Regions from separate parts of the Homo sapiens genome. Here region 1 is linked to region 2. Evidence: promoter capture Hi-C in 16 types of primary human blood cells and fetal thymus (Javierre and others, 2016). All regions are on one chromosome and are shown on one strand. The core of a region is centred on a gene start or on the middle of the fragment in contact, and the rest is flanking DNA. Distances in the headings are between cores, read along the strand shown.

Region 1 (3,905 bases), core at 193-2,692, 220 kb before region 2:
TCTCATTTATAAGGCTCAAGGCATTTGTCTGGGACAGAAGCCAATTAATGTCTCCATTTATCCCACCAGTTTCCCCTTTCAGTGATGGAAGTTCATCCCCATCTTCCTATAGGACCGAAATTTAACTTTGCAGACGTGCTGTTCTGAGGACCCACCCGGAACAGAGCATGTACACAAACCCACTTACTGTCGCTTCTAACATTGTAGGAAGCCTTTGGGTTTTCCAAGGCAGCAAAGTACTGAGATTTGTAATTAAAAACACATATTAGCTACATTCAAGTTGTAACTAACTAAAAACTTCTACTTAAGTCGACTGATCCTCAAAGTAAGACTCAAATCAAAACCAGAAAAGTTTGGGGGCAATTCCCTTTCCAGCCCACAAATACAGGAACTGGGAGTGACACCGTCCTCACAGGGCTACGGCACCTTTCTGCAGCTTCCCTGGCTCCCTTTCAATTTTTTTTTTTTTTTTTTTTTTTTGAGACGGAGTTCTGCTCTTATTGCCCAGATTAGAGTGCAGTGGCGCGATCTTGGCTCACTGCAAGCTCCGCCTTCCAGTTTCCAGCGATTGTCCTGCCTCAGGCCTCCCAAGTCACTGGATGTTAATTACACCCAGCAAGGTCGCCCGCCACCACGCCTGGCTAATTTTTTTGTATTTTTAGTAGAGACAGGGTTTCCCCATGTTGTCCAGGCTGGTCTCTTAACTGCTGACCTCGTGATCCACCCACCACGGCCTCCGAAAGTGCTGGGATTACAGGCGTGAGCCACCGCACCCGGCCTTTCAATTTTTGATAAGGATCTTTCCTTTTTTTTTTTTTTGAGACAGTCTCACTCTGTCGCCCAGGCTGGAGTGCAGTAGCGTGATCTCGGCTCACTGCAACCTCTGCCTCCCGGGTTCAAGCGATTCTCCTGCCTCAGCCTCCCGAGTAGCTGGGAGTACAGGCGTGCGCCACCATGCCTGGCTAATTTTTTGTACTTTTAGTAGAGACGGAGTTTCACCGTGTTAGCCAGGATGGTCTCAATCTCCTGACCTCGTGATCCGCCCGCCTCGGCCTCTCAAATTGCAGGGATTACAGGTGTGAGCCACCGCACCCAGCCGAGTGGTTTCTTTAAACTCTGCAACAGACTTGACGAATTCCTTGGATTTTGACCTTTAAGTGTAGCAGGTGTGCTGGAAACAGAGCAAATCAACTTGAAAGCTTCTTGGAGGTTGCTCCAAACAGCAGCATATAATTATATTCAATGGTCTCCCTATCTCTCGGAAAAGCAACTCACAAAAACATGTTTATTCTCATTGCCAGCACTCACTAAACGCTACTAGGATATCGCTGATCTGTTCATTTCCTAAATCTCTGCTACTAACACTTTAAACCGAGAGTAAACTTGCAGTCTCAACATCCAATTTTAGAAGACAAGTGTGACGAGGAAGGATTTATCAACTGAAAAATGTTTACTGACACAGGGAATCTAGAAATGTACCTTCCAGATACATACAAATATTTAAGCAAAAACTGTTCCAAGGGTATTTCCTGCAGCACCTGCCCAAAAGGAGCAAACTGGTCTTAACAAAATCAGGTGTACATCAATGTTACGCAGTCAGAATGAGACACATCTGAATGCCTAACATAAAAAGATCTACAGTAACTAGGTATCTATACACATTGATGTATAAACTGTTTATGGAAAGAAGCTTCTTATACAGTGTTTCTGGAAAGGGAGACTGCTATCCTGCTGTCTATAATGTGTGTATGGATTACTAAGAAAGGATTGAGTAATTCTCCACTACTGCCACTAGCCTCTGGAGGAAGAGGGCACACAGTTTTTACCTCTAAGAATTATTATAAGACATTCAGCCTTATTTGGTTGTATGAAATACTATGCTAGAAAATGATCCATAATTACACCTTGTACTACTCATGTTGTACTTTAATGATTAAAATAAATACCATGTTGCTGCCTGGTCTGGAGGACAAGACACACCATCAACTGACTCAGTGTTCTTCACAACCAGACTACAGGCAATTTTTTTCCAAAACATACATCTTTGGGAAGCAAACAAATTATTTATGGAAGAAAAAAGGAGGAATGTTTCACATTCAGGCAAACATAATACTGTCAGTGTGTTTGGACTAGAGATTTTATTTTAGAAGTATAAAGGATGGAGGCGCGATATTTGGCATTTTTAATTTAGGTTTGTTTTATTTAAGTTTAATGTTAATTCCATGCTGTGTTTCAGTAAGAACAATACAGATTCTGTATCTGTGGCTCCAGTCAGATATCCAGTAGTACAAATTAGCTTCAAGTTACACATACTGAACAAAAGAGGTTGAGCGAGCGAAGGAGGGGAGGAGTGAGGGGAAGGAGGTAGGGGGAGGGGGAAGGAGAAGAAACAAAAGAATTGAACAGGCATGCAGGCTTTTCCATACCACCTTCAACGCTAACCTGCTTCAGTGGGAGAGTAAAGTAGGCAAGAATGAGCAGCCACGGATTGTTGAACTGTTACCAGCACCATGCTTTTCAGCAACATTTCAGCGGAGTTGGAAACATTTTTTACAGCAAAACCATTACAACGAAGTCCCTCCCCAAACCACCTTTAACCATCTCAAGCTAACACCCAATTACTTGCAAACACTGGTATAAAACACAGTTTAAACAATTAGAAAAATGAAAACTGATACCACTTATGCCTCTATAGTGTGATTAACCTCTCTCTTAGATGCTTGCATCACCTATAAGTCTAATGGCTTTCAAATGTAATTTCCATTTGCTAATGGTGATCTTGCCACATCTGGCACGGAGACGACACAGTAATGCTGAAAAAGCCTCTATGTAGTCCTGTTAGTGTCTTAAAGAACCTAAAAGCTGGGACCAGTAAAATCCACAGAAATTCACTCTTGCCTTTAAGAACTTTTGAAAACTGTTTAAAAAAAAAAAAAAAAAACCAACAGGGCAGGAACCTAAATTCTGAGACCAAATGTAAAAGTCAGATTTGGTGGTTCTCAGTGACAATGGGGAGTTTCCAAAGGGTGGGATGGGGAGGAGGGGGTGGTCAGAGATGGTTTCTCTTGTTGGCTTATGTCTCACTGATTTTCGTCTTCCACGTCCTGCAGCGCTTCTTTATTCTGCTCTTCACCTGTTAAAAAAGAAAAAAAGTCAATTATTTCGTATTGACTACATTAGGCTATGGCAGCCACAAACAAAGGTGTCATTCCAAGCATAAAGACTCTTCTACTTGCTACAATTGGTATTAAACGCAGGCAAAGGACTTCTATCATCCTTGACACCTGAGATGCCTAAGCCAAGAAGGGATTATGGTCCTGAAAGTATTTATTGGTCAACAGAATGAAAAAAACTGATGCGCAGTACAACTCAATGTTTTTACGCTAAATAAGCTCTTGACGTAGACAGCCAAGGAAACCATCTTACTAAAATGACATTCAAGCTTTCACATAAATCTTGGGTCAAAATACTCTTTCTCAATAACCTCACCTCTTCAAGAATCAAGAGTATTTTGCAAACTTTTTGCAAAATCTAATTTACCCACAAGCTAATTATCAGAAATGCTTCAAAATAGTTAACTGAGCAATAAACTGTTGCCAAGAAGTTCTATCGTATTTTATTGTGGGGTTCTGCTGTTATAAATATTTCAGCTTTTGTATCTTGGCCAGATACACCAAACTATAATCAGATTTTACTTCAGAGTGAAACACAGCATGCTCAAAGTAAATCAGACCACTGAGGTTATTAAAGAATGGCATTTGGACCACTTCACTCATGCTATTTGTCTTTTGCCTTTAAAGAGGGTGATTACCCTAAGGAGTTTCAACTGCACTATGACATGCAACAGAAAGCCACCTATTGGTTGGAGGGTCATCTACCTATTAGTATGCATTAAACAAGTCAGC
Region 2 (3,881 bases), core at 860-3,359:
GATGGGAAAAGCCTGTCAGTCTGGACACTGAAGATTAAAATCTAAAGTGCACCACGTTCTCCTGTTGGCATCGTAAAGTTCTTCCTCCTCACCAGGAAAAGCTCCGAGCCCTGGCTGAATTAACATCAGACTGGATGTCAAGAAACAGAGGGGATGAGGCCTCAAAATAATGCTCTTCAGATGAGGTGTTTAGCTGGGATGACATGTGGGTCTCAGCTCCCTCTGTTACCCAAACTCCACTCTATGTCCTAAATGTCCTAAGCACCTCCAAGGAGCCAGCCTGGTGGGGATGGTCAAAGTGCGATCGCTGACAAAGTGGCAAGAGCTCTCTGCACACCTGCCTGGCTGCCTCACAAGTTGCTCTCTGTTTGACCATCTCCCACTCCTGGGGCTTCTGGCCCTCCCTCCAGGAAAGCAGTTTCACTGTAAATTCTGTGCACACACGCACACGCACACACACACACACACCCATCCTATCTCTCCTCTTTGGGGAGAAAAATGTCCTGTGATGCTTACTTGGAACCCTGAGCTTCAACGATGGCTCATCTTGTACTTGAAAGATTTAGCACACCAAACATCTCCACCTGTCCCCCAGTCCCCTGGATTTCAGGAGCAAACCCGTCATCCTGCAACTCCTTCCAGAAGTCACCAGTTTCCCACGCACCCCTCTTCACTACTCAAGAGCTCCCCACCCCTTCCACCATCTCTCCTCAGTTCACGGCTCCATGGACCCCTCAATTCCTCAAAGAATTTCCCCATCTCTTTGCACCAAGACTGAGAATCCCCTAGAAACAAGCTGGCCCTGCCCTGGTCTCCCCCATCTCCAACGGCAGGTATACTCATCCCAACATACTCTCTTTCCGGACCAGCCTCGACCCCGGTAACTTCCCGGCCTTCTCCACTTCGGACCCTACCCAACATTTTCTGGCCTCCTCGCCCAAGTCTCCCCACGTCCCAAGCAGTCATCCCAAGCTTGTTCCAAAAGCCTCCTCTTCCGCACCAGCTGCTTGGGCACCACGGTTACTCCGGCCCGCATCTCAGCCCCCTCTGCATGTCCTCAGACCCTTCACCTGTCTCCCCAGCCAGGCCCTGACTTCCTAGTCCTCCTCCTGTGTCCACTTACCACCACCCCTCACCCGATGCCTAAGGCGGCCACTCCTCCCCATCCCCATCCCAACTCCATCGCGGAGCCTCTGACCCATCCACCCGGCTCTCCGTGTGAACTGTTCGGCCCTCCACCTTTCCCCACCGCCGGGAGGCCCTGCCTGCCCCGGTGCGCCTCTTCCTCGGCCGCCGCGGGGCCTCTCAGCGCCGCCTGCAGTCCCGGCTGAGCCCGCGCCCTCGGCCCGCGCAGAGCGACCCCACAGCACTCCCAGCGCTCGGCGTCCCCTCGGCCTCCCCCAGTCCCGGGCCAGCTCTCCCTGCCCTGACCCCGTCTCGGGCCTGGCCTCGCCCTCGCTGTCCCCGGCCTCTCCTCGGGTCCACTTGGGCCTCCGAGGCCCCCGGGGCGCCTGAGGAGCCGTCCGCCCGGGTTGTCCCTCCGTGCCCGTGGGCCCCTCCATGCCCCGGCTGCCCGTCCATGCCCCGTGGGCCCCGGCTCAGATGCCGAACGCCCCGGCTGCCCCTCCACGCCCCGGCCGCCCCTCCACGCCCCGGCCGCCCCTCCGTGCCCCGTGGGCCCCGCCTCACGTGCCGCCCGCCCCGGATCCCCTCCATCCCCGCTGGGCCCGCCTCAGGCACCCTCCGTCCCTGCTGCCCCTCCGTCCATCCGGGCCCTGCGTCCCTCGCCGCGCCGTCGCCCCGGCGGCCGTCCCCACCCTCCCTCCTCCCCGCTTCCGCACGGCCGCCGGACACTCACTACTCCTTGAGCAGCACCATGTCGCTTCGCGGCTCGGTGGCTGCCCGCGGCCCGCCCGGCCTCCCGCCCGCTGCCCGCCGGCCGCTCTCCCCGTGGCCCGGCCCGGCCCGGCTGCCTGTGCGTCTTCGTCGTGCTCTGCTCCGTCCCCGCCGCCCTCGCCGCGGTCGCCGCGCCGGCTCCTGCCGCCCGGGCCTCGTCGCCTCTCGCGCCGCTGCCGACGCCGCCCGGAGCTCCGGTTCCGCAGCGCCGCGCGGGGGCGGGGCGTCTCTGCGGCAACCAGAGCGTCACACGCCGCGGTGCGCGCTGACGTCACGCGGGGCCGAGCCTTCCCAGGCCCGCCCTCCCGTCCTTAAGTGGGCCGCGGCGGCGCTGTCGGTTCCGAGGTGGGGCCCCGCGGCTGGGGCCAGACCCGGCAGAAGGCGGAGCAGACTAGGGTGTCCGTCACCGTCCTCGGTGTGAACCGCCACGGATGCACGCGGGTGCTGGCTGGGGGGCCTCCCCGGTTGAGGGAATTGAGACCCAGGAAAAGGTTGTTTCAAAAAATATTAATAGCCGCGCGCGGTGGCCCACGCCTGTAATCCTTGCACCTTGGGAGGCCGAGGCGGGCGGATCACCTGAGGTCAGGAGTTCGAGACCAGCCTGGCCAACATGATGAAACCCCGTCTCTACTAAAAATACAAAAATTAGCTGGGCGTGGAGGCACGCACCTGTAATCCCAGCTACACGGGAGGCTGAGGCGGGAGAATCGCTTGTACCGGGAGGCAGAGTTTGCAGTGAGCCGAGATCGCGATCGCGCCATTGCACTCCAGCCTGGGGGACAAGAGTGAAACTTCGTCTCAAAAAAAAAAAAAAGAAAAGAAAAGGGCTGTGAGGCCGGGCGCGGTGGCTCCTGGCAGTAATCCCAGGCACATCATGCCTGTAATGCAGCACTCAGGCGGGCGCATCACCTGAGGTCAGGAGTTCCAGACCAGATGGCGAAACCCCATCTCTACTAAAAGTACAAAAATTAGCCGGGCGTGGTGGTGGACGTGGTGGTGGTAGTCCCAGCTGCTCGGGAGGATGAGGCAGGAGAATCGCTTGAACCCTGGAGGCGGAGGTTGCAGTGAGCCGAGATCGCACCATTGCACTCCAGCTGGGGCGACAGAGCGAGACTCTGCATCAAAAAAAAAAAAAAAAAAAAGAATGAAAAGGGCTGTGAGAAATGAGACACAGGCTTAGCGGCATTACACGGAGGGGCACCTAATTGAGCGTCAGGGATGTAGTCAGGGAAGGCTTCCTGGAGGAAGAGATTCTCAGATCTGCAGAGGGCTTCGGAGAAGAGCATAGCAGGCAGAGTGAATGCAAAGGCTGGAGGCAAGAGGGAGAGCATGGTGCATTTGGAGAACTGACAAGTGAGTGGAACAGAACATTTCAGGGCTGAGCAGCTCAATAGGGGAGGGTTCCTGGTGAACGATGATAAGGTATTTGGAGTCCACCCTAAGGGCGGTGGGAGGGCATGTAAGGGCTCTGAGCAGTGACATGAGCGGGTGTCCTGGGCGAAGGCTCACTCTAGTGGTTGGGTGGACAGAGGGGATGGAATGCCAGAGCGTAGGCAGGGAGACCGGCGAGGAGGCTGCTGCAGATGTCCAGGTGCAGGTGGACTAGGACAGTGGGAGGGAAGAAAAGGAAGGGATGGATTCAGGAGCAACTCAGAAGGTAAACTCCGTGAGACTTGTTGACTCATTGGCTGAGAGGAGGAGAGAAAAGCAGCGAGGTCTCTGGCCTGGGAGCCGGGGTGGACGGTACTGTCTTCTCTGAGAACACAGGCAAGACAGGCTGGCATGGGGGCAGGTAATGACTCCAGTGCTGGACTCACACTCAGCGCAGGACGCTAGAGGGGCATCCAGGGGAGATGGGAGTGGGCTGCCTAAGACAGGGACTTGGGAAGGGAGGGTGGAGCAGCTGGCCGTGTTGCTATCAGGATGTGACTGGCGGCCCGCGACTGCCCTGAGCACTGTGCTCACTTATCAGATCCTAGAGTGGG

Evidence for each region. Contacts are between HindIII fragments. The CHiCAGO score rates a contact against its expected background, and 5 or more counts as called.
Region 1: a fragment that was not itself captured here is called in contact with the fragment with the promoter of PITPNA in region 2 in 5 of 17 cell types (erythroblasts, megakaryocytes, naive B cells and 2 more); the score reaches 7.2 in erythroblasts.

The regions. Positions count from the first base shown.
Region 1 is chr17:1,342,367-1,346,271 of GRCh38, forward strand. It overlaps YWHAE (tyrosine 3-monooxygenase/tryptophan 5-monooxygenase activation protein epsilon), which reads right to left. Exons shown (of 6, transcript NM_006761.5): 6 at 1,909-3,133. The coding sequence ends at 3,081. Among named protein-coding and RNA genes, the nearest start is that of YWHAE, 56 kb to the right of the region's middle. The HindIII fragment of the contact is 491 bases long and covers 1,198-1,688 here.
Region 2 is chr17:1,560,683-1,564,563 of GRCh38, forward strand. It overlaps PITPNA (phosphatidylinositol transfer protein alpha), which reads right to left and starts at 2,110. Exons shown (of 12, transcript NM_006224.4): 1 at 1,859-2,110. The coding sequence starts at 1,878. RefSeq lists enhancers at 1-148, 1,063-1,162, 1,931-2,430 and silencers at 1,273-1,402, 1,883-1,932, 2,003-2,282. The HindIII fragment of the contact is 8,315 bases long and covers 971-3,881 here.